Linked DNA regions of Homo sapiens: all the other regions are linked to region 2. Evidence: promoter capture Hi-C in human tissues and cell types (Jung and others, 2019). All regions are on one chromosome and are shown on one strand. Each heading gives the region's core, a stretch centred on a gene start or on the middle of the fragment in contact. The rest is flanking DNA. Distances are from core to core; before and after follow the strand shown. Region 1 overlaps NFAT5 (nuclear factor of activated T cells 5). Region 2 holds the start of PDF (peptide deformylase, mitochondrial). Region 3 overlaps WWP2 (WW domain containing E3 ubiquitin protein ligase 2). Region 4 overlaps NFAT5 (nuclear factor of activated T cells 5). Region 5 overlaps TANGO6 (transport and golgi organization 6 homolog). Region 6 overlaps WWP2 (WW domain containing E3 ubiquitin protein ligase 2). Region 7 overlaps TANGO6 (transport and golgi organization 6 homolog).

Evidence for each region. The method cuts DNA at HindIII sites, captures the fragments that hold promoters and counts their contacts. A contact is called where the count stands out against the background at its distance.
Region 1: a contact is called between a fragment that was not itself captured here and the fragment with the promoter of PDF in region 2, in 4 of the 25 tissues and cell types used here (lymphoblastoid cells, mesenchymal stem cells, small bowel and 1 more).
Region 3: a fragment that was not itself captured here is called in contact with the fragment with the promoter of PDF in region 2 in 1 of the 25 tissues and cell types used here (spleen).
Region 4: a contact is called between a fragment that was not itself captured here and the fragment with the promoter of PDF in region 2, in 5 of the 25 tissues and cell types used here (IMR-90 fibroblasts, hippocampus, lymphoblastoid cells and 2 more).
Region 5: a fragment that was not itself captured here is called in contact with the fragment with the promoter of PDF in region 2 in 1 of the 25 tissues and cell types used here (lymphoblastoid cells).
Region 6: a fragment that was not itself captured here is called in contact with the fragment with the promoter of PDF in region 2 in 1 of the 25 tissues and cell types used here (dorsolateral prefrontal cortex).
Region 7: a fragment that was not itself captured here is called in contact with the fragment with the promoter of PDF in region 2 in 1 of the 25 tissues and cell types used here (H1 embryonic stem cells).

What each region holds. Positions count from the first base shown.
Region 1 is chr16:69,692,587-69,695,598 of GRCh38, reverse strand. NFAT5 (nuclear factor of activated T cells 5) reads right to left here. Exons shown (of 15, transcript NM_138713.4): 13 at 1,360-3,012; 14 at 220-463. The coding sequence ends at 228. Among named protein-coding and RNA genes, the nearest start is that of SNORD13H, 15 kb to the left of the region's middle. The HindIII fragment of the contact is 7,332 bases long and covers 1-3,012 here.
Region 2 is chr16:69,328,929-69,332,012 of GRCh38, reverse strand. It overlaps PDF (peptide deformylase, mitochondrial), which reads left to right and starts at 1,425. Exons shown (of 2, transcript NM_022341.2): 1 at 1,425-2,016; 2 at 2,834-3,084. The coding sequence starts at 1,443. The coding sequence ends at 2,991. It overlaps COG8 (component of oligomeric golgi complex 8), which reads left to right. Exons shown (of 6, transcript NM_032382.5): 5 at 918-1,200; 6 at 2,834-3,084. The coding sequence ends at 1,174. RefSeq lists enhancers at 116-763, 1,412-2,059 and silencers at 988-1,377, 1,408-1,787. The HindIII fragment of the contact is 3,727 bases long and covers 731-3,084 here.
Region 3 is chr16:69,774,384-69,777,353 of GRCh38, reverse strand. All of the region lies in intron 1 of WWP2 (WW domain containing E3 ubiquitin protein ligase 2), which reads right to left. Among named protein-coding and RNA genes, the nearest start is that of WWP2, 14 kb to the right of the region's middle. The HindIII fragment of the contact is 4,000 bases long and covers 1-2,970 here.
Region 4 is chr16:69,650,616-69,653,574 of GRCh38, reverse strand. NFAT5 (nuclear factor of activated T cells 5) reads right to left here. Exons shown (of 15, transcript NM_138713.4): 5 at 147-339. Among named protein-coding and RNA genes, the nearest start is that of SNORD13H, 57 kb to the left of the region's middle. The HindIII fragment of the contact is 9,035 bases long and covers 1-2,959 here.
Region 5 is chr16:68,983,261-68,986,603 of GRCh38, reverse strand. The region is part of intron 15 of TANGO6 (transport and golgi organization 6 homolog); the gene reads right to left. Among named protein-coding and RNA genes, the nearest start is that of HAS3, 120 kb to the left of the region's middle. The HindIII fragment of the contact is 7,055 bases long and covers 1-3,343 here.
Region 6 is chr16:69,790,374-69,793,827 of GRCh38, reverse strand. The region is part of intron 2 of WWP2 (WW domain containing E3 ubiquitin protein ligase 2); the gene reads right to left. Among named protein-coding and RNA genes, the nearest start is that of WWP2, 30 kb to the right of the region's middle. The HindIII fragment of the contact is 7,902 bases long and covers 1-3,454 here.
Region 7 is chr16:68,902,645-68,905,990 of GRCh38, reverse strand. The region is part of intron 9 of TANGO6 (transport and golgi organization 6 homolog); the gene reads right to left. Among named protein-coding and RNA genes, the nearest start is that of TANGO6, 61 kb to the right of the region's middle. The HindIII fragment of the contact is 3,745 bases long and covers 1-3,149 here.

The sequences.
Region 1 (3,012 bases), core at 485-2,984, 360 kb before region 2:
GTGCTGGGATTACAGGCATGAGCCACCACGCCCGGCCTGGTCTGTATTAACTATATGACCATAAGCTATCATTCAGAATAATTTTATTCAGAGTAAAAAAGTATCATCTTGTGAGAAAGCCACATTTTAAAAGATTAGAACTACTATTACTTAACCTAAATCTGTTAAGAAGAATAAAATCTGATGCTTTTCAATAAGAAGCCAAAATGCAATACTTACATATCCAGTTAAAAGGAGCCAGTCAAGTTGTTCCCTTGGTTTTGCAATGAAACAAGCAAATCAATCTTTTCGATGTTCTGGTTGGTGTTTATAGAGGATGCCAGTGGAGAATTCTCTGGCATTTGCTGAGAAAGAAGTGTTGTCACAGGTGGCTGGCCCTCGTTTTGTGGTTGGCCTGGCTGACTTATGGCCATCAACTGATCAGGCAATGTAGCTGGTCCAGAGGTTAAAAGCTGACTACAGTCTGCAGAGACATTGAAAACAGAAGCTTAAAAGCTGACTACAGTCTGCAGAAACATTAAAAATAGAAGCTATCTGATTAGTAAAGATTCATGAAAAGATATTTATTAGTTGTTGGGGAAAATTCATTACTGCATTCTCCTTGTATATTACTAAAAGTTAGGCACCTGATAGTCCAAGAAAAAGGTTTTCACAGACTGGCACTGGAATTCATCTTAGGTTTCCTTTAAGCAGTCTAAAAATACAACTTTGCTTAAATATCAAAAGTCCTATATAAATTCCTTGGTATATAAACATTAAAGATGAGTTTCTACCTCCTTAGAAACTACTTACTTCAACTGGGTAAGGTATTATCTGTCATTCTGACTTCATTTTCCTTTTAAGTTTATAGCTTAAAATGGCAAACACACATTTTTATACATTGCCATATTTAATCCTCCCCAAATCCATGTAAAGTATGTAATATTATCACCATTTTAAATGAGAGAATTGAGACCCATAAAAGCCAAATAACTTGTACAAGATCTTATAGTCTATAGGTGATAGAGTTCTAACTACAATCTGTACTCTTAAAACAACTATACAGGACAGGTGTGGTGGCTCACGCCTGTAATCCCAGCACTTTGGGAGGCCGAGGCCAGCGGATCACTTGAGGTCAAAAATTCAACACCAGCCTGGCCAACATGGTGAAACCCCGCCTCTAACAAAAATACAAAAATTAGCTGGGCGTGGTTGTGCACACCTGTAATCCCAGCTGCTTGGGAGGCTGAGGCAGGAGAATCACCTGAACCTGGGAGGCAGAGGGTGCAGGTGCAGTGAGCTGAGATCGCACCACTGCACTCTGCTTCCTTCTAATAATAATAATGACCAATTAAGTAATGAAAAATTAGAGTTTCTTACTATTTTGAATGCCAAATAAGAACATTCCTGATGTCTGCTGAGATGAGCCAGGAGAATTCTGCAGTTGGTTCATTGTGCCTCCTGCTGTGTTGTGAAATAAAGTAGCCTGTGGTTGAGGCGAAGATGTGGCTCCTTGAATTCCAGGCATGTTGTTCTGAGGGGAATAAAGAGGAGACTGTTGCATATCTTGTTGATTTATACTGGTCTGCAAGGCAGACATGGATGCTGGAGATAAGAAGAGAGTTACTTGCTGCTCTTGAGAACTAGGTGACCCTTGTACCAACTGAATCTGAGGAGAGCTATGGAACAAGGGGGTCTGTGATGATTCCGACTGGGTAGGACCTGGGTTCTGAAGTGAGGAAACTGTGGACTGACTCTGAAATTGCATGGGCTGTTGCTCTTGATTCATTGGGGCCATGTTACTTTGTTGGTGAAAAATTGACTGGTTCTGTTGCTCCTGATTAGCCATTGGATTTTGATTTGGGTTGAATATCATGTTTGGTGGTGGTTGCTTTGGAGACGCCATTGTAGCCATGGTATTCTGATTACTGAATAAAATGCTCTGTTGTTGTTGCTGCTGCTGTTGCTGCTGCTGTTGCTGCTGCTGCTGCTGTTCCTGGGATGGAGAGTTACTCTGCATGGCAACTATTGAGTGCTGTGACTGGAACATGGTTCCTTGTTGGCTTTGAGGCATTGGATTAGGTGGAAGGGAGCCCAGGGCCACCTGAGGCTGAAATAAACCCTGCTGCGGGGGTTGTGCCTGTTCTTGGGAAAGCATAGGAGTCTGGATGTGTGATATTGGAGCTTGCTGTTGGAAAGCAGCTTGTTGTTCACTGTTTGATGTTGACTGAAGTGGAGAAATTGAGTTCGGTGCTGCAAAAAATGCTTCTTGGGCTACTGTGTTAGTCTGAAGATTATTCATGGGACTCTGGGAAAGAAATATGTTGGTTGACTGCTGGTCTTGAGGAACTGAAGAGCCCTGTAACACAGCAATGGTACTTTGAGAGTGAAACATTGGAGGCTGCATTTGTTCAGAGGAGGTTGTAGAAGTCTGACTGTGGACAATAGGATTTGGACTATGAAAGAGAGAACCTTGAGTTTCCTGGGAAAGGTTCTGAGCATCGGCAATAGGATTTTGAGGATGAAAAAGTTGGGCCTGTGAATGAGAAGACTGCTGCAAAAAATTTCCAGATTGAAGTGACATCATCTCATTCCCTTGCTGGAATAAACCATTACCTTGTTGTTGGGTACCACTATTCTGAACACTCATCATACTTTTTGTGGATGAAAAAAGGTTAACTTGAGGTTGATTGTCCCCACTATGTTGCATTTGGACCATGGTCTGAAAGACACTGTTCTGAATCTGTTTTGCTTGTGTTCCAGTTTCTTCTCCATCTCCTGAACTTGATGTCTGAAACATGGTAGTGCCAGGGGTTGCAACCTGCTGTGTGGTAGTTGTAGAAGTTTCATTTCCAGAAACTGCAGGAGGAGAAGAAAACAATTCACACTGCATTTGCATATCCTCATTGGTAGACAATGCACTCATCATGTGAGAAGTCTGCTGGTAAACTGGCGATTGCTGAAGGTTTCCATTTGCTGAAGCAGTTGAAGGGAATAACTCTGACTGAATCTGGGCAGCTGCCTGGCAGATAC
Region 2 (3,084 bases), core at 176-2,675:
TGGTTGAGGCACAGCTTCCCAAAGGGCAATGGGTCAGTGCATCACACGTGCAAAGCCTGGCTGCCCTCTGCTTTTTCCCTGGTGCTGCCTGAGGTCTGGGTTCCTGCTGCAGGCACCCTACACTGCTGTTCCGTTACGTTCTGCTTCACAGTATAGCTTCCCATTCCCTGTAACAAAGGTGGTTTTTGCTGTATTAAAACATAGTAATTGATGGCTGGGCGCAGTGGCTCATGCCTGTAATCCCAGCACTTTGGGAGGCCGAGGCGGATGGATCACCTGAGGTTGGGAGTTTGAGACCAGCCTGGCCAACATAGTAACTCCGTCTCTACTAAAAATACAAAAATTAGCCTGGCATGGTGGCGGGCGCCTGTAATCCCAGCTACCACGGAGGCTGAGGCATGAGAACTGTTTGAACCTGGGAGGCAGAGGTTGCAGTGAGCAGCAATCACGCCACTGCACTCCAGCCTGGGCGACAGAGCGAGACTGTCTCAAAAAAAAAAATAGTAATGGCTCGTTTTTTTTCCCTTAAATTTCCTTTTTTTTTTTTTTTTTTTTTTTTGAGACGGAGTTTTGCTCTTGTGGCCCAGGCTGGAGTGCAATGGCGCGATCTCGGCTAACTGCAATCTCCACCTCCTAGGTTCAAGCGATTCTCCTGCCTTAGCCTTCCCAAGTAGCTGGGATTACAGGCCTGCGCCACCAAGCCCGGCTAATGTTGTATTTTTAAGAGAGATGGGATTTCTCCGTGTGGGTCAGGCTGGTCTCGAATTCCTGACCTCAGGTGATCCGCCCCCCCCTCCCCGGCCTCCCAAAGTGCTGGGATTACAGGCGTGAGCCACCGCGCCCGGCCTCCCTTAAATTTCTATATTGAGTTTTATTAGTAACTGTTTTCCATTTTGCTTTCCCCACGTCTGGGTTAGGCATTCCTCCCACTCAGCTCTCCAAGTACGGTAACCTAGGGCATGTGAACATCGGCGCCATTCAGGAGCCCCTCGCCTTTATCCTGCCAAAGAGAGAGACGCTTTTCACCCTGGATGACCAGGCGCTGGGGCCCGAGCTCACAGCTCCAGCACCAGAGCCTCCCGCCGAGGAGCCACGCCTGGAGCCCGCGGGCCCAGCCTGCCCGGAGGGAGGGCGAGCGGAGACGCAGGCCGAACCGCCCAGCGTGGGGCCCTAGCCGGCGTCCCCTGCCTCCAGAACGCGGTGCGTGAGGTTCCCGGCGCGGGGTGGCCAGGACTGCCTCGCCCTGGAAGGTCCGGGGCGGGTTCGGGAGGCGGGAAGGCGCTCCCGGGAGGAGAGCGGAAGGGGGCGGTGCTCACTGCCAGTCTAAGCAGGAAGGCGGGGATCCAGTCGCGGCTTCGCTGTGTGCTGGCCGACGGCGCTTCCCGGCGTGCCCCGCGCTGCGGCCGGAAGGGGCGGGCCGGGTCACTGTTAAGGGGGCCGCCATGGCCCGGCTGTGGGGCGCGCTGAGTCTTTGGCCACTGTGGGCGGCCGTGCCGTGGGGCGGGGCGGCAGCCGTCGGTGTCCGGGCTTGCAGCTCCACGGCCGCCCCGGACGGCGTCGAGGGCCCGGCGCTGCGGCGCTCCTATTGGCGCCACCTGAGGCGTCTGGTGCTGGGTCCTCCCGAACCGCCGTTCTCGCACGTGTGCCAAGTCGGGGACCCGGTGCTGCGCGGCGTGGCGGCCCCGGTGGAGCGGGCGCAGCTAGGCGGGCCCGAGCTGCAGCGGCTGACGCAACGGCTGGTCCAGGTGATGCGGCGGCGGCGCTGCGTGGGCCTAAGCGCGCCGCAGCTGGGGGTGCCGCGGCAGGTGCTGGCGCTGGAGCTCCCCGAGGCGCTGTGTCGGGAGTGCCCGCCCCGCCAGCGCGCGCTCCGCCAAATGGAGCCCTTCCCCCTGCGCGTGTTCGTGAACCCCAGCCTGCGAGTGCTTGACAGCCGCCTGGTCACCTTTCCCGAGGGCTGCGAGAGCGTCGCCGGCTTCCTGGCCTGCGTGCCCCGCTTCCAGGCGGTGCAGATCTCAGGTGCGGGCGGCGGGGACCGGGGCTGCTGGAGCAGCGCGCGCGTCTCTTCTGCCCGACTCCGCGAGAGCGCAGAAGTGGTCGCGGTTCATACGCCGGACCTCCCGCAGGAGCGAAGTGGGATGCGGGAGCGGAGAGGCCTCAGGACGGATAGAAGCTCCTGTGGGGTAGAGCCCGCTCAGATAGGACGCAGGGGCGAGGAGAGGTCCCCTAGTTCCGCTGTTACCTGACAGCCTGGCGTCTGCTTTCTGCTCCCTTGCTCTCTGAGGCAAACACGCTCTTCGGCCCCAGTTAGATCCGCCACGGTGGAGTTGGAGAAGTGGGGGTTAGCCCCCGCCAGCCTGACCCAGCCCAGGGGGCTAGGCCATTCCCCCGTGGTACCACAGGATGCCTCGCGGAATGCGGGCTCTGCTGGGGTCGGGGTGATTGTTCCTGCACAGCAAGCCCGTCGGTTCAAGATGGTCAGAAAAACAAGTGGGGTCTCAAGCTGCAGAACCTCTGTTAGGAGTTGGGAGCCCACAGGTACCTCAGAAGTGGGAGGAGTGTTCGGAAGGGTCGCACCGTAGAAAGATGATTTCTCATCTCAGCTCTACAGTGAGCTCGATAACCTAATTACCAGAGTTGGGAACCAGGTTGAACGCTTGGTAATGGACCGAGATGAGGGACGTTTTCCAGTTAGAAGAGGAGCTGCTGTCTACATTTGCCATCTGCTGTTGCCTCTTGTCAATGGGAACAGCCAGGACCGGGGGCAGGGGTAGGGAGGTTGAGGATGATGCAGTTCAGCTGTTCCCACTCACCAGGGCTGTAACTTCCTTTGCAGGGCTGGACCCCAATGGAGAACAGGTGGTGTGGCAGGCGAGCGGGTGGGCAGCCCGCATCATCCAGCACGAGATGGACCACCTGCAGGGCTGCCTGTTTATTGACAAAATGGACAGCAGGACGTTCACAAACGTCTATTGGATGAAGGTGAATGACTAAAGCTTTGCTACTGGGGCTGAGGATTCCGGATACCAAGACGCAAACACTTTCACTTTGAGCTGGGCAAATCTTACTTGGCATCAACTTGGATGG
Region 3 (2,970 bases), core at 428-2,927, 450 kb before region 2:
ACTCCAGCCTGGGTGACAGAATGAGACTCCGTTTCAAAAAAAAAGAAAATATAAAAGTATATCACACACAAAGGAAAGTATTATTTCACAAAAAGTTTTACCAAATAAATATACATGTATATATATTAATAGGTGCATATATGATATCTCCATATGTATATTGTATATACACATATGTGTATATCCATATGTGTATTGTATATACACATATGTGTATATATATCCATATGTGTATTGTATATACACATATGTGTATATATATATCCATATACTGTTTTAAAATAAATATACATACATATATATACACACACACACATATACTGTTTTAAGATATAAAATGTATGTCTTACTAAAGGTTGCAGTCAAAAAAGCTTGAGACTACTGGTCTACAACAATCCCATCTAAGGTAGGGTTTTAGATTAAACAAACACTACAGAACCTAATAAGCAAATACTACACTAGGGACTAATTTCATTCAGAGAAATGTCATCAGTTTATTATAATTTTTTTTATTTTTTTTTTTTCGAGATGGAATTTCGCTCTTGTTGCCCAGGCTGGAGTGCAATGGCACAATCTCGGCTCACCACAACCTCCGCCTCCCAGGTTCAAGCAATTCTCCTGCCTCAGCCTCCAGAGTAGCTGGGATTACAGGCATGCACCACCACGCCCAGCTAATGTTTTGTATTTTTAGTAGAGACGGGGTTTCTCCATGTTAAGGCTGGTCTCGAACACCTGACCTCAGGTGATCCGCCCACCTTGGCCTCCCAAAGTGCTGGGATTACAGGCGTAAGCCACTGCGCCCGGCCTATTATCATTATAAGTTAAGAAACTTCCCACATCTAGGTAACAATCTCTAGAGCTTAGATAAGAGGCATTCATTCATTTGACAAATATTTATTGAGCATCTATTATGTACTCTGCACTGGTTTTGGTGCTAGTGGTATACTGCTGAATAAAACAGAAGAAAAAATCCTTCTTTACAAGATTATCCTGGTAAAGAGTCAAGAAAGATTCCCTCCTAGCTCTAGTTGTGGGAAGTAACCATAGTGAAATAGGCCCAGAGCAATGGCCTACTCTCCAGGGAAGAAGACTTTACCAGAGCCTTATCCTACCTGGTGGAAGAGAAGTCCCCTGACTCCAGCCCTCTTTAGCCTTTCTGTTTCATCTAAGGGGAGAAAAACAGTTAAATATGAGTGACAGTCATAGCCTGGGACACAGGCCCACTAAAAGACTAGGATTTGACCATGAGGCTATAGAATGCTTCCCCTCCCCCATACTTTGCTGTCACACCAACAGGGCTCCAGTACAACAACAGGGAATTAGGGCTGAAAGGCATACACTCTATTTAAGAAGGAGTTTTTAGGGAAAACCAAAGATAACAGGGGAGACAGAAACAAGGACACTAGAGGAATTTGAAGCCTCAGATACCAACAGTTACAGCAATCATTAAACACAGACCAACTCTTAGCCAGATTAACATGAAACACCATACTAACAATACTAATGGACTATTTATCTCATTTCCTATTACCTAATACATCATGTCCAGCTTTCTTTTTTAAACAAGAACTAGGGAGGGGTAAGGAAGAGGAACTGATCAGCAGGAAGAAGGTCAATGTCTAGCTCTCAATGAAAAATTACAAAACACACTAAAAGGCAAGAAGAAACAGTGTGAAAAAGAAATAAAGCAAGCATCAGAACCTGACTCAGATAGGACAGATTTTAGAATAATCAAACAGGTAATGCAAAATAACTATGATTACTAGGTTCAGGGCTCTAATGGAAACAGCAGACAACACATGAGAATAGATGGGCAATGTAAGGAGAGATATAGCAACTATAAGAGTCAACAGAAAATGCTAGAAATCATAAACACTGTAATAGAAGTGAAGAATGCCTTGATGGGCTCATCAGTAGACAGGACATGGCTGATGGGGTTTAAGATACCTTACCCCAAAACATGACACCTTGGCATTTAAGAAAACAGGAAAAGCAGGAAGTCACTCTCAGCTTCCTCTCACCCTTCTCCCATAAAGCAGGTCATAAAGCCTATGAAAGATTTTCTGACCTTCCCCTGAAACGGGTCATATGACCCTCCTTTGAGAGATGCCCTCCTTATACCCCAAGGAAAGAAATATCCTTCTCTGAAAACAAAAGGACACAGAGAAGAATCTGAACAAATAGGACTTGTTAAATTTCCCCCAGTGTATTACCAGTCAATCATACCCCTTTTGTCCAATCGTATTTCTCCACGATTGTCCACTCTTCATCAAACCTAAACATAAATACACATTATCTGTTTCTCCAGGTCTTAGTCACGTAAATTTATATGATATAAATTTGCATGCTTTTCACTTTTTCTTTTCTTTTCTTTTTTTTTTTTTTTTGAGACAGTCTTGCTCTGTCACCCAGGCTGGAGTGCTGTGGCGTGATCTCAGCTCACTGCACCTCCACCTCCCAGATTCAAGTGATTCTCATGCCTCAGCCTCCTGAGTAGCTAGGGTTACAGGTACATGCCACCATGCCTGGCTAATTTTGGTATTTTTAGTAGAGATAGGATTTTACCAAGTTGTCCAGACTGGTCTTGAACTCCTAGGCTCAAGCCATCCTCCTGCCTTGGCCTCCCAAAGTGATGGGATTATAAACGTAAGCCACAGCACCTGGCCAAAATAGAAATTAAAAAGGCATGAACAGGAAGGTCTCACTGAGAAGGTGACATTTGAGCAAAGATCTGAAGAAGCTGAAGGAAGAAACTGAGAGTATCTGCAAAACATTCAGATAGATAAAAGGGTATGATGGCCAGCAGTGGTGGCTCATGCATGTAATCCCAGCACCTTAGGAGGCCAAGTCAGGTGGATCACTTGAATCCAGGAGTTCGAGACCAGCCTGAACAATAGGGCAAAACCTCGTCTCAACAAAAACCACAAAAATTAGCCATGGTGGCACATGCCTGTAGTCACAGTTACTCGG
Region 4 (2,959 bases), core at 229-2,728, 320 kb before region 2:
TCTTTCTAAAGTTTGGGATGAATCTAATTCAAATATCAAATATGAGGGAAGAAAATTCATGATTTGAAAATATTTTACTTTTCAGGACATATTCTCATTCCCCTTTACATTTTAACTAAAATTCAAATGATAAATAAAGTAAATACCTTTACTGTAGGAAAGCCTTGCTGTGTTCTATCTTTCACTGAGCCACGGCTGCCCTCAGTCAGGTACCGAGCTCGGTGCTGTGTCTCAGGTTGTACAACTATCTTCAGCTCCTTTCCCTCACTTTTAACAGGATATTGTCCACACAACATAGGGCTCTTCTTTACTCCAGTTCCTTTTTGGTTTTCCAATGTTCTGAGAAATCAAAGCACAACATGGAGAAAGTATCAAAAAGAGTTTTTTGATAAAAAAAAAAAGCCATTAAGACAAAGGAAGAAACAGAACTGGCAATAATAGTAAAAACAACTATTCAGCTTGCTGGCAAAATAAAATATTGCCTAAAGGAAGATACATGAGCAAAGTATCTTTAAAAAGGTTTTGTAAAAAAGTTTACTATATGATGCAAAAATAAAACAAAGTATGTTTGACAGAAAAGAAAATGAACGTATGTGAGTGGTAGGAGGAAGGGAGGAAGATTGAGCGCAATAAACTGAGACTAACAGGAAAGAATAGCTAATGTCACTATAACCTTTAACATTGTACTTCAGTCAAAATAAGATTTAAAAATTCCATGTATGCATTCCACATATAAATTCCAAAATTTATATAAAGCTATAAGATTAACTACTGTTATTTTTTAACTGCACAGTAAAAGAAGTGAGGGTAGCGAAAACAAAAAACAAACCCCCAAAAACCCTACATACCCCCATACAAAATGGCCTACAAACCAAATGAAGGTATATGTAGCTTATTCTTTTGAGTATCCTTCTCAGTAAACCAAACTGAAGAAATTAGATAAAAAATTAGCGATTCAATTTTTATTGGGAAATTAGCTTTACTCTAAACAATCTTTTCTAGGAGTGTGATTTTTCAGATTATTTTTATCTGTGATTAGTTAAGTAATTAAAGCCCTCAATAAAAATTTTTACAATCTGGGCTTTACAGCACCAGCATTCTACCTTTTTTTTTTTTTTTTTCTGAGATGGAGTTTTACTCTGTCATCCAGGCTGGAGTGCAGTGGCACAATCTCAGCTCACTGTAACCTCTGTTTCCTGGGTTCAAGTGATTCTCCTGCCTCAGCCTCCCAAGTAGCTGGGATTACAGGCGTGTGCCACCAAGCCCAGCTAATTTTTATATTTTTGTTAGAGATGGGGTTTCACCATGTTGTCCAGGCTGGTCTCGAACTCCTGACCTCAGGTGATCCTCCCGCCTCAGTCTCCCAAAGTGCTGGGATTACAAGCATGAGCCACTGCACCTGGCCCTTATTTTTTTTAGTTATGCTTTTTAACATTTATTTATAATGCATTTGCTATGTGGAATGCATGTTCAAAGAAAAACAGTATCCCAAATGGTGGTTATGACTTCAGGCAAACACATTTAATCTGTAAAATAGTTGAAGCACTGCAAATACATAATAAAAACAAGTAAAAACAATATTGTTAGTTATCTTTCCTTTTGAGCAATGGTGTGGTGTCCCACACCTGTAATTCCAGCACTTTGGGAGGCCAAGCGGGGTGGATCACCTGAGGTCAGGAGTTTGAGACCATCCTGGCCAACATGGTGAAACCCCGTCTCTACTAAAACTACAAAAAATTAGCCAGGAGTGGTGGCAGGCACCTGTAATCCCATCTACTCGGGAGGCTGAGGCAGGAGAATCACTTGAACCCAGGAGGTGCAGGTTGCAGTGAGCCCAGATCGTGCCATTGCACTCCAGCCTGGTCAACAAGAGCAAAACTCCGTCTCAAAAAAAAAAAAAAAATTCACGTATGTTTTTAAATAAAGTCAGGGTCATAGCTTTCTCTGTGACCCTCCTAGTCCTAAGTTTTGACTCACATCAAAGATCCAGGAGCCAGATGACTGTGAAGAAAAATCTCCTCTAAAAGCAACCAGATTCCAGTAGGAATATTACGACTTCAAACACAGAGAAGCTAAGCAGGCTTAAACCTGGCTCTAATGTTTACCCCTCCAGCTGTAACCAAGTTGTTGCCTTAATCATCAAGAACAAAGTGAGGAAAGGCACTATCTTCAATGGAAATGGGGAGTAGGTTGAATCCTTGGCTAGGAAAGAGGCAAAAGAATGGAGCAAAGAAGGAATGAAACTAGCATAGGAATTCAGTAAGACTGATAGATGAGAGGAAAAGTTCTCAAGGCGCAATACTGTGCTTAATCATCTTTATATTCCCTGAACCTGGCACACTTCCTGAAACATAACAGGTGCTGAAGAAATGTTTGTTGATGAAGGCAAAGAAGAAGAAAGGGACAAAGAAAGGAAAGCAGAGGGATAAAGAAGCTTCTGTAATATTAAGATGAGAAAGATCCTAACTGGACAAGGAATGCCATTCGTGTAAATTTGACATAAGTAAATCAAAGATTACTTGTGCAAGTCATTTAAAAGGCCCTGGAAGAATAAATTCTATGAACATAAGTATCAAGTTGAAGCTGGAACAATGGGCAGTAAACCCTGTTTTTCTTTTCATCATTCTGGGTACAGATTCAAACATTTGGTCTAACTAGTGTGCAGTTCCTCACACATGAAAGTCTATGATATTCTGTTTTATACTAATCTTAAAGTAAAAATATTCATTTATTGAAACTATGTAGAAATATCCCCCAAATATACATACAAAGAGATGAAAGAAAATACTGCAAAATGATAATAGCAGATTTACTGAGTGACTAGATTATGAGGTTTTCTTGTATTTTTCAAATATTTGTAATTCATATGTATCAATTTTATAATAGAAAAGGGAAAATTTTAGTTTGAAATACAAGGAAAATTCATAGAGCATATCGATTAACTTGGCAAGACATGTTT
Region 5 (3,343 bases), core at 46-2,545, 350 kb after region 2:
ATTGGATTATGGCTTCATTCTGGAGCTGCATGAACCATTAGAGACCTGGGGCCATGTGATACTCATCACTTGGATGAACTGAAGGGGTAAAGTGATTGCTAAACTAAAACACAAAAATCAAGCAGGTGACATGGAAAAGAGTTGACAAAGCACATTGAATCAGGGTGTTTTACAGCCGGAAACACCCCGTAAAGCCTAGGACTCACCCTTTTCCTAGAATATAGAGTAATCTGAGGAGCTGCTTTGCCTCAGGATTCCTGGGGGTCACTCTACTTACCGTGGCATACGACAGAAGAGATCAGAGACTTAATTCTCACCCCTCAGTCCTCATTCAAAATATGAATTCCTGATCTCTCCTAAAAGCAAACTCTTCAGATGGAGCAACATGAATCTGGCTATTTTTGTTCTGACTTTTAGAAGTCTCTGGCCTAGAGTAAACTGGAACTTGTCTTAGCTTGCTGATTACAAGGCTACATTCTGCCTCTAAAAATAATTAAGAAGTACTGTTCTTTGTACGTCATGATGACACCACCAGCTCTGAGTTGCTCTTCCAGGGAAGCAAAGGGTTCACACTGAGTCATGTATCCCTCAGTCCCTCTCTCCCCTCTTCCACCCACCCACCTCCCCTGACAGGTTCCTTGATTCTGGGAGCAAAGCTGCACATTTTGGAGATGGCTGGTCAGGGTTAAACATTTAGTTTATACCAAAGGTGTCAGAAGAGAAAGAAAAAAGGCAAAACAAAACCCGAAAAACATTTAGTCTGAAGCCATGAAATAGTTTTTCTCTATGAGATATTAGCAGTTTAATTCACTGCTGAAAAGACTGTACATTTCTGGAGGACAGCTTGGCACTAAGTATCTTTTAAAATTAAATTTAAAAAATGTGTTTTTTGAGACAGGGTCTCACTCTGTCACCTAGGCTGGAGTACAGTGGCACAATCATGGCTCACTGCAGCCTTGACCTCCCGGGCTCAGGTGATCTTCCCACCTCAGCCTCCTGAGTAGCTAGGACCATAGGTGCCTGCCACCACACCCCCAGCTAATTTTTGTATTTTTGTGTAGAGATGGGGTTTCGTCATGTTGTCCAGGCTGGTCTTGAACTCCTGGGCTCAAGTGACCTGCCTGCCTCAGCCTCTCGAAGTGCTAGGATTACAGGCATGAGTCACTGCACCCGCCGGTGCTAAATATCAAGAAGTATATGTTGACCTAATAACTTCCCTTGTAGAAACCAATCCCAAGGAAAGAACCAAAGAATCATCAAAAGGAGTTATATGTAAGAATAATCAACAGAACACTTGTCATAATCAGTAATAAACTGGAAACAACCTAATTAAACAATATGTTCCCAGAGATAATTAAATAAAAGTATAATAAATTCAGGTAGTTACATAATTAGATTATAACACAGTCAATATTATATTTTCAAGAAATAGGCCAGGCATGGTAGTTCACGCCTGTAATCCTAACACTTTGGGAGGCCGAGGCAGGAGGATCACTTGAGCCCAGGTGTTGGAGTCCAGCCTGGGCAACATAGTGACACACCATTTCTATTTAAAAAAAAACTAACAACAACAAAGAAATATTTAATGACATAGGAAAGTACTTACAAATAATGTTAACCAAGAAAAAAAAAAGCAGTATATATACATACAGTGTAATTACAATTCTGAGAAAGAAAAAAAAAGCTTGAAGAAAATACATCAAAATGTAAACAAAGAGTAGTTACTCCAAAGTGAAATTATAGGTGATTATTTTCTTTTTCATACTTTTAAATATTTTTCTGGGCCAGGTGTGGTGGTTCACATCTGTGATCCCAACACTTTGAGAGGCTGACACAGGCAGATCACTTGAGCTCAGGAGTTTGAGAACAGCCTGGGCAACATAGTGAGACCCCACATCTACAAAAAATAAAAAAATTAGCTGGGCATGGTGATGCATGCCTACAGTCCTAGCTACTCGGGAGGCTGAGGTGGGATGATGGCTTGAGGCCAGGAGGTGGAAGCTCTAGTGAGCCAGTGATGGCACCACTGCACTCTAGCCTGGGCAACAGAGCAAGATCCTAGCTTGAAAAAAAAAAATCCAAACTGTCTAATATAAGTAGGAAGTATAGTTCAATCTATAGACTTTTCCCTTCCCCTTATTATATCAGTAATAAGTTATAGCCATCAAAAAATTGATGTGAGAAAGAAAAAGAGAAACGGGAAAGGAAAAATAGTTACTTAGTCTGGATTTCAACCTTCAATTCTGGCCATATTAGTATTTCCATTTATATTAATATAAATGTTTGTTGAATTGAACTACACTGATGCCAGCCTAGGCAGACTCAGCAGGGAGCATTTCATTTGATCCTGAGTTTTGATGAAAATTTCTTCTTTAAAAATATGTGAGCTCTAACACTTGACTGCTGTTTATTGCTGCCAAAATCCATGAATGCTAAACTCCCAGACTGGTATCCAATTATTCACACTTCCAACCTCCCTTTTCACCTGAATTTAAGACTGTGCTGTGAAATGGAAATCTCTGAAAACTATCATACAAAAGCTATTTTTCTTTTTTTTTTTTTTTTCTTTTTGAGACGGAGTCTTGCTCTGTCGCCCAGGCTGGAGAGCAGTGGCGTGATCTCGGCTCACTGCAACCTCTGCCTCCCAGGTTCACACCATTCTCCTGCCTCAGCCTCCCGAGTAGCTGGGACAACAGGCACCCGCCAACACGACTGGCTAATTTTTTGTATTTTTATTAGAGATGGGGTTTCACCGTGTTAGCCAGGATGGTCTTGATCTCCTGACCTCATGATCCGCCCGCCTCGGCCTCCCAAAGTGCTGGGATTACAGGCATGAGCCACCGCGCCCGGCCCTACAAAAGCTATTTTTTCAAAAACGGACCTGTTGTGCTGTGATGATGATGAGGAACGGATGTAGCCTTGTAGCACACTGCCACACTCAACTGCAGGGTTTGGAGAAGAAAAAGGACAGACATGACCATTTCTTCTGTGCCTCACAATACTCCATACAGGCCTCTCCCTCCATGGGCCGGGCTTCTTACCAATGCAATTTGTCTATGAGTTGACCTCTCCCTCTAAATGATAAGCTCCTTGCAGGAAGAGACCATTGCTTTTTCATGCTCCTGTTTCCAGCTACAGTCACAGAACCCAACCACTCAGTGGCTACTCAATTAATGTTTCTGAACTGGACTACATTAATGTCCCATCCCCAGGATTAAGAAAAAAAAAATAAGTGTTTTCAAGATAAAGAATTTTGAGCATTAGAAAGAGCAACCAAATAACCCAGGAATTTATATGACTTAGAAATTGACAAAAACAGGAAACTAAATTAGAATTCAGAGAG
Region 6 (3,454 bases), core at 284-2,783, 460 kb before region 2:
CTTGAATTCTAATAAGAGGTAGGTATAGTTTCTATAATCCCTTACTGCTCAGGAGTCATGAAGCCAGAGGTCACAAGATTTGTGACTTCCCCAATTGCTCCCATAGATAACATCGCTATTGCAGAACCTAAGGTTGGTCTTTTGAGATTTTTTCTTTCTGGCAATCTACTGACTTTGCCTGGGCCCGTGACTTGACTCGTGAAACAAATTATCCTGTGGCCCCACCCAGAAGTGGACTCAGCACAGGACCATTTTCCACACCTCTATAATCTCATCCCCAACCAATAAGCAGCACCCATTCCCTAGTCCCCTACCTGTCAAATTGTCTATAAAAACCCTAATCTCTGAGCCTCCAGGAAGACTGATCTGAGTGATAACTCTGTCTCCCATATGGCCTGTTTTGTGTCAATTAAACTCTTTCTCTAATGCAATGCTACAGTCCCAGTGAATTTATTTATTTATTATTATTATTTTTTTAGATGGAGTCTTGCTCTGTCACCCAGGCTGGAGTGCAGTGGTGCAATCTTGACTCACTGCAACCTCTGCCTCCCAGGTTCAAGCAATTCTCTGCCTCAGCCTCCCAAGTATCTGGGATTACAGGCGCCTGCCATCACACCCAGCTAATTTTTTTGTATTTTTAGTAGAGACAGGATTTCACCATCTTGGCGAGGCTGGTCTTGAACTCCTGACCTCATGATCCCACCTAGGCCTCCCAAAGTGCTCGGATTACAGGCATGAGCCACCGCGCCCAGCAGTGAATTTATTTTATCTGTGCAGTGGGCAAGAAGAACCCACTGGGTGATTACAATTGTTTCCTCATGATTAGATTCGGTTTAAAGGCCAGGCACAGTGGCTCACCCTGTAATTGCAACACTTTAGGAGGCCGAGGCAGAAGGGCCACCTGAGCCCAGGAGTTCGAGACAAGCCTGGGCACCACAGCAAGACCCCAAATCTACAAAAAATAAAATATTAGCCAGGTGTAGTGGCTCACACCTGTAGTTCCAGTTACTCGAGAGGCTGAGATAGGAGGATCCCTGGAGCCCAGGAGGTCGAGGCTGTAGTGAGCTGTAATTGTGCCACTGCACTCTAGCCTAGGTGACAGAGTGAGACCCTGACTCAAAAGAAAGAAGAATACTACATAAGTTATGTCGTGTACCTCTTACCACATACATTAGGTTGTCCTGCCATTGGGGATACTAAGTTTGAACATCTGCTTAATGTGGAGTTGGCCAGGTCTCTCCACTGACACATTTGTAACCTACAGTTAATCAGCAGGGTGATATTTTGAATATTTCTTGTTCTTAAAAGACAGGCTAAAATAAAGATATGAGCAAGTTTATCTAGAAAGTCTCTTTCATGAAATATATCTTTATACACAGAGTCACGACTTTATGTGAGATTTAGCTTTTAAAGTCAACAAATCAGGCAAAAATCATATAAAGACAAAATTATACACTGAAAAAGCTCTTAAGAAGGGACCACAATAGAGTCTGGCATCTGCTCTCTCAATAAGTTCCAAACAGCTTGTTTCTTGTTTTATTATACTATGCTTTTCAGAGATCAGTTTTTCAGTGTTTCTCTAGTAAAATATCAAATAAAATAGCTGTCCTACGTTTAAGGGCCTCGATGCATTTAAAAATATACCTTAAAACACCAGGATCACACTGTGGGCAGGCACAAGGGAACTGGAAACCGCGCAGTCACACCCCACAGGTTACACTATCAGCTTTCTTCATGAAATGCACGGGAAAAAGAACCACCTACGCTATTTAAATGGTTATTTCTCTCTTTCTCTTTCCCCCCACCATTTTCCTGAATGGTATTACCAAATCTGTGTAGGTTAAATATGTGTATAATGAGATACACCAGTATTATCAAGCTGGCTCTTTCCACCCTGGTAAGAAAATTCACCTTCAAGAAAGGCAACAAAAAAGCCTTTAGAAGTATGTGCTGGACAGGTGCAGAGGCTCACATCTATAATCCCAGCACCTTAAGAGGCCGAGGTGGGGGCCAGGCACGGTGGCTCACACCTGTAATCCCAGCACTTTAAGAGGCCAAGGTGGGAGAACTGCTTGAGTCCAGGAGTTTGAAACCAGCCTGGACAGCACAGCAAGACCTATCTCTATAAAAAAAATTTAAGAATTAGCTAAGTATGGTAGTGTATGCCTAAAGTCCTAGCTACTCAGGAGGCTGAGGCAGGAGGATTGCTTGAGCCTATTTTGAGGCTGCAGTGAGCTGTAATCATGCCACTACATTCCAGCCTGAGCAACAGAGAAAGACTGTCTCAAAAAAAGAAAAGAGGCCAGGTGCAGTGGCTTACGCCTGTAATCCCAGCACTTTGGCAGGCCGAGGTGGGTGGATCACCTGAGGTCAGGAGTTTGAGACCAGCCTGACCAATACGGTGAAACCCTGTCTCTACTAAAAATACGAAAATTAGCCGGGTGTGGTGGCAGGTGCCTGTAATCCCAGCTTCTTTGGAGGCTGAGGCAGGAGAATTGCTTGAACTTGGGAGGCAGAGGTTGCAGTGAACCAAGATCACGCCACTGCACTCCAGCCTCGGCGATAGAGCGAGACTCCGTCTCAAAAAAAAAAAAAGAAAGAAAAAAAGAAAAGAAGTAAGTGTGCGTGGCTGAATAACATGGCCCCAAAACAGAGACCTCAGGATGTTACCAGGTCCAATAGGCCAACTTCTGCTTTGACCTAGACTTGCTAATTATTAGCTAAGGTAATAAAGTCTGTAGCCCCCAGTTTAAAACCATATTAGTTCACTCTAACTCATCTCCCTACTCAAAAGGGCAGAAGCAAGGCAAAAGACTCCAAGAAATATAATTAAAATATTTCAAGACTACAAAAACAATCAATAATGTAATAAGAAACAGGCAAAGAACATGAACAGGCAATCCATAGGAAAGGAAATACAACCGCCCTTAAATATATAAGATGCTAAACACTGGCCGGGTGCAGTAGTTCACACCTGTAATCCCAGCACTTTGGGGGGCTGAGGCAGGCGGATCACTTGAGGTCAGAAGTTCGAGACCAGCCTGGCCAACATAGCAAAACCCCATCTCTACTAAAAATACAAAAATTAGCCAGGTGTGGTGGCACATGCCTGTAAACCCAGCTCCTTGGGAGGCTGAGGCATGAGAATCGCTTGAACCCAGGAGACAGAGGTCGCAGTGAGCCAAGATCACACCACTGCACCCCCGCCTGGGTGACAGAGTGAGACTCTGTCTCAAAAACAAACAAAAAAAAAGATGCTAAACATCATACAGTTGACCTTTAAACAAGAGAGGTTTGAACTACAAGGGTCCACTTTTACATGGATTTTCTCCTGCCTTTGCCACCCAAGAGATAGCAAAACCAATCCTTCCTCTTCCTCCTCCTCCTCAGCTACTCAACATGAAAATGATGAGGATGAAGACCTTTATGATGACCCACTTCCACTGAATAAATA
Region 7 (3,346 bases), core at 28-2,527, 430 kb after region 2:
GCCAGGCTGGTCTCGAACTTCTGACCTCGTGATCTGCCCACCTCGGCCTCCCAAAGTGCTGGCATTACAGGTGAGCCACTGTGCTCGGCCATTTTTTGTTTTGTTCTTTTTTAATTTTTGAGACAGGGTCTCACTCATTGCCTAGGCTGGAGTGCAGTGGTGCGATCGTGGCTCACTGCAGCCTCAACCTCCCAGTCTGAGGCAATCCTCCCACTTCAGCCTCCTAAGTAGCTGGGACTACAGAGGGGCACCATCACAACCAACTAATTTTTGTATTTTTTTGTAGAAACCGGGTTTTGCCACATTGCCCAGGCTGGGCAAGAAATTTTTGTACTTTCCCATGAGGTACTATGGCTTTTAGTTTTTAATTATTCTGACAAGAGACAAAGATACTATGTATACATATATATACACCTGTGTGTGTACTTACTATTTTTTTAACTTTTTTTTTTTTTTGAGACAGAGTTTCGCTCGTCACCTAGGCTGGAGTGCAATGGCGCAATCTCGGCTCACTGCAACCTCCACCTCCTGGGTTCAAGTGATTCTCCTGCCTCAGCCTCCTGAGTAGCTGGGATTACAGGTGCCCGCCACCACGCCTGGCTAATTTTTGTATTTTTAGTAGAGACAGGGTTTCACCATGTTGGCCAGGCTGGTCTCAAACTCCTGACCTCGTGATCCACCCACCTCAGCCTCTTCCAAAGTGCTGTGATTACAGGCGTGAGCCACTGCGCCCAGCCCCAATTTTATTTTATTTTTTTTTGAGACACAGTTCCACTCTTGTTGCCCAGACTGGAGTGCAATGGCACAATCTCGGCCCACCGCAACCTCTGCCTCCCAGGTTCAAGCAATTCTCCTGCCTCAGCCTCCCAAGTAGCTGGGAATACAGGCATGCGCCACCATGCCACCACGCCCGGCTAATTTTGTATTTTTAGTAGAGACGGGGTTTCTCCATGTTGGTCAGGCTGGTCTCAAACTCTTGACCTCAGGTGATCCGCCCGTCTCGGCCTCCCAAAATGCTGGGATTACAGGCATGAGCCACTGCGCCTGGCCTTTTTTAAGAAATGGAGTCTCGCTATGTTGCCCAGGCTGGTCTTGAACTCCTGGCCTCAAGCAATCCTCACACCTTGGCCTTCCAAAGTGCTGGGATTACCAGTATGAACCACCATACCCAGCTCAAGATACTATATTATTATACCATATTATCATATAAACAAATACAAAGGCATTGAAGATGCACTAAAAAGCAAAACACTAAAATAATGTGAACAGAAAATAAGATACTAGTTGACTTTTGTTTTCCTCTTTATGTGTTTTTTGTATTGTACAAAGAATATGTGTTATTTCAGTGACCAATGACATAAAATTTTTTCAGACTAAGTTGAGAAAAAAAAGATAGATGTTTCTTCATCTCATTGAAAAGTACAATTACTAATTTGGCAGCCCATCTCATCAGGCAGTATGTCTCAATGTGCCAGTTCACTAAGAACATGGACTTCATATTCCTCTAATAGAATGAATAACCTACATATTTAGCTTAGGATATTTCCTGTATTATCCCAGAATCTTCCAGAGTCCTTCAGATCAGTCATGTTTTCTCCACAACATTCTATGTTAAAGGAAAAGCCAAAATGGATAAACGTCCCTTCTAAGCTTCTGTGAGCCATTTTAATTGTGAAAATGAAGTACTGTATTCAAATACTCCTAAAACAACACGACGTTAGCCTGGCATGGTGGCGCGCACCTGTAGTCCCAGCTACTTGGCAGGCTGAGACAAGAGAATTGCTTGAACCCAGGAGGCAGAGGTTGCAGTGAGCCAAGATCATGCCATTGCACTCCAGTCTGAGCGACAGAGCAACACTCAGCACCAAAAAACAAAACAAAACAAAACAAAAACACATGACAATTATCTTAAGAAGCACTACTTTAGTCACGCTTTAAAATTCAACAATAAAGAGTAAATTCCAAACAATTATATTTAATTCCAGAAAAGTAAAAACTCTGGATCTAAAGATATAAAATCCAAGCTGCTCTTATAGAGTTTCTTTAAATAAACTTCTTTTTTTTTTTTTGAGACAGAGTCTCACTCTGTCACCTAGGCTGAAGTGCAGTGGCGCAATCTTGGCTTACTGCAACCTTCATCTCCTGGGTTCGAGTGACAGTCCTGCCTCAGCCTCCTGAGTAGCTGTGACTACAGGCGCCAGCCACCACAACCGGCTAATTTTTATATTTTTAGTAGAGATGGGGTTTCACCATGTTGGCCAGGCTGGTCTTGAACTCCTGACCTCAAGTGATCTACCCACCTCGGCCTCCCAAAGTGCTGGGATTACAGGTGTGAGCCACCACGCCTGGTCCTTCTTTTTTTTTTTTTTTTTTTTGAGATGGTCTCGCCCTGTTGCCCAGGCTGGAGTGCAGTGGTACGATCCCAGCTCACTGTAACTTCCACCTCCTGATTCAAGCAATTCTTTTGCCTCAGCCTCACAAGTAGCTAGGCCTACAGGCATGCACTACCATGCCTGGCTAATTTTTGTATTTTTAATAGAGATGGGGTTTCACCATGTTGGCCAGGCTGGTCTCAAACTCCTAACCTCAGGTGATCCACCCGCCTCAGCCTCCTAAAGTGCTGGGATTACAGGTGTGAGCCACCGTGCCTGGCCAAAAACATCTTCTTGATAACTGTTGCTGGGCAGAATAGCAGCTTGCGTTTGTACTGATAATTCTGTTTGCAATCTATGTGTTTTTCTATTTTCCTCAAGTCCATCAAACTGAAGGGGTGTTTTACAACTTTACCAAGTTAACCATGAATATATAATTATATTTCAACACTTCAACAAACAGCAGCACTTTGAATGTGATGTGAAATCCAAACAGGATAGCAGTCACCCATGAATGTTACATGGACTATGACCAACAGGAATTTACGTTCTGAGGTAATAACATTAGATCATCCAGAAAGTGGAAATAATTTAAAATATGCAATTGTGAGATGCTGGAGAAATAAATGATCCATTCCACTAATATTTATTAAGCACTTTCTAATCAATCCCTATGAGAAACAAATTTCCATCATAAAATTACCATAAAAGATAGCTATTAGACAATTTCCCTCAGGAATAAGTCTGACTATAAACACACACATATACCATTTTGAGAGTCAGAAAGATAATTGGATTATTATGGTGTTAAGGGTGAACATGTGTCTGCCCTTTACTCTGATTAACTGGCAAAGATGGTGGAGTAAGTGGGCTTGTTGTGATGCAGAGCTGTGAGGCTCCAGTAAATTGCACCAACTATTAGCAGGCATCTTAGGAAAAAACCTGGAGGATTATTTAAGGCTCACGTTTCATTT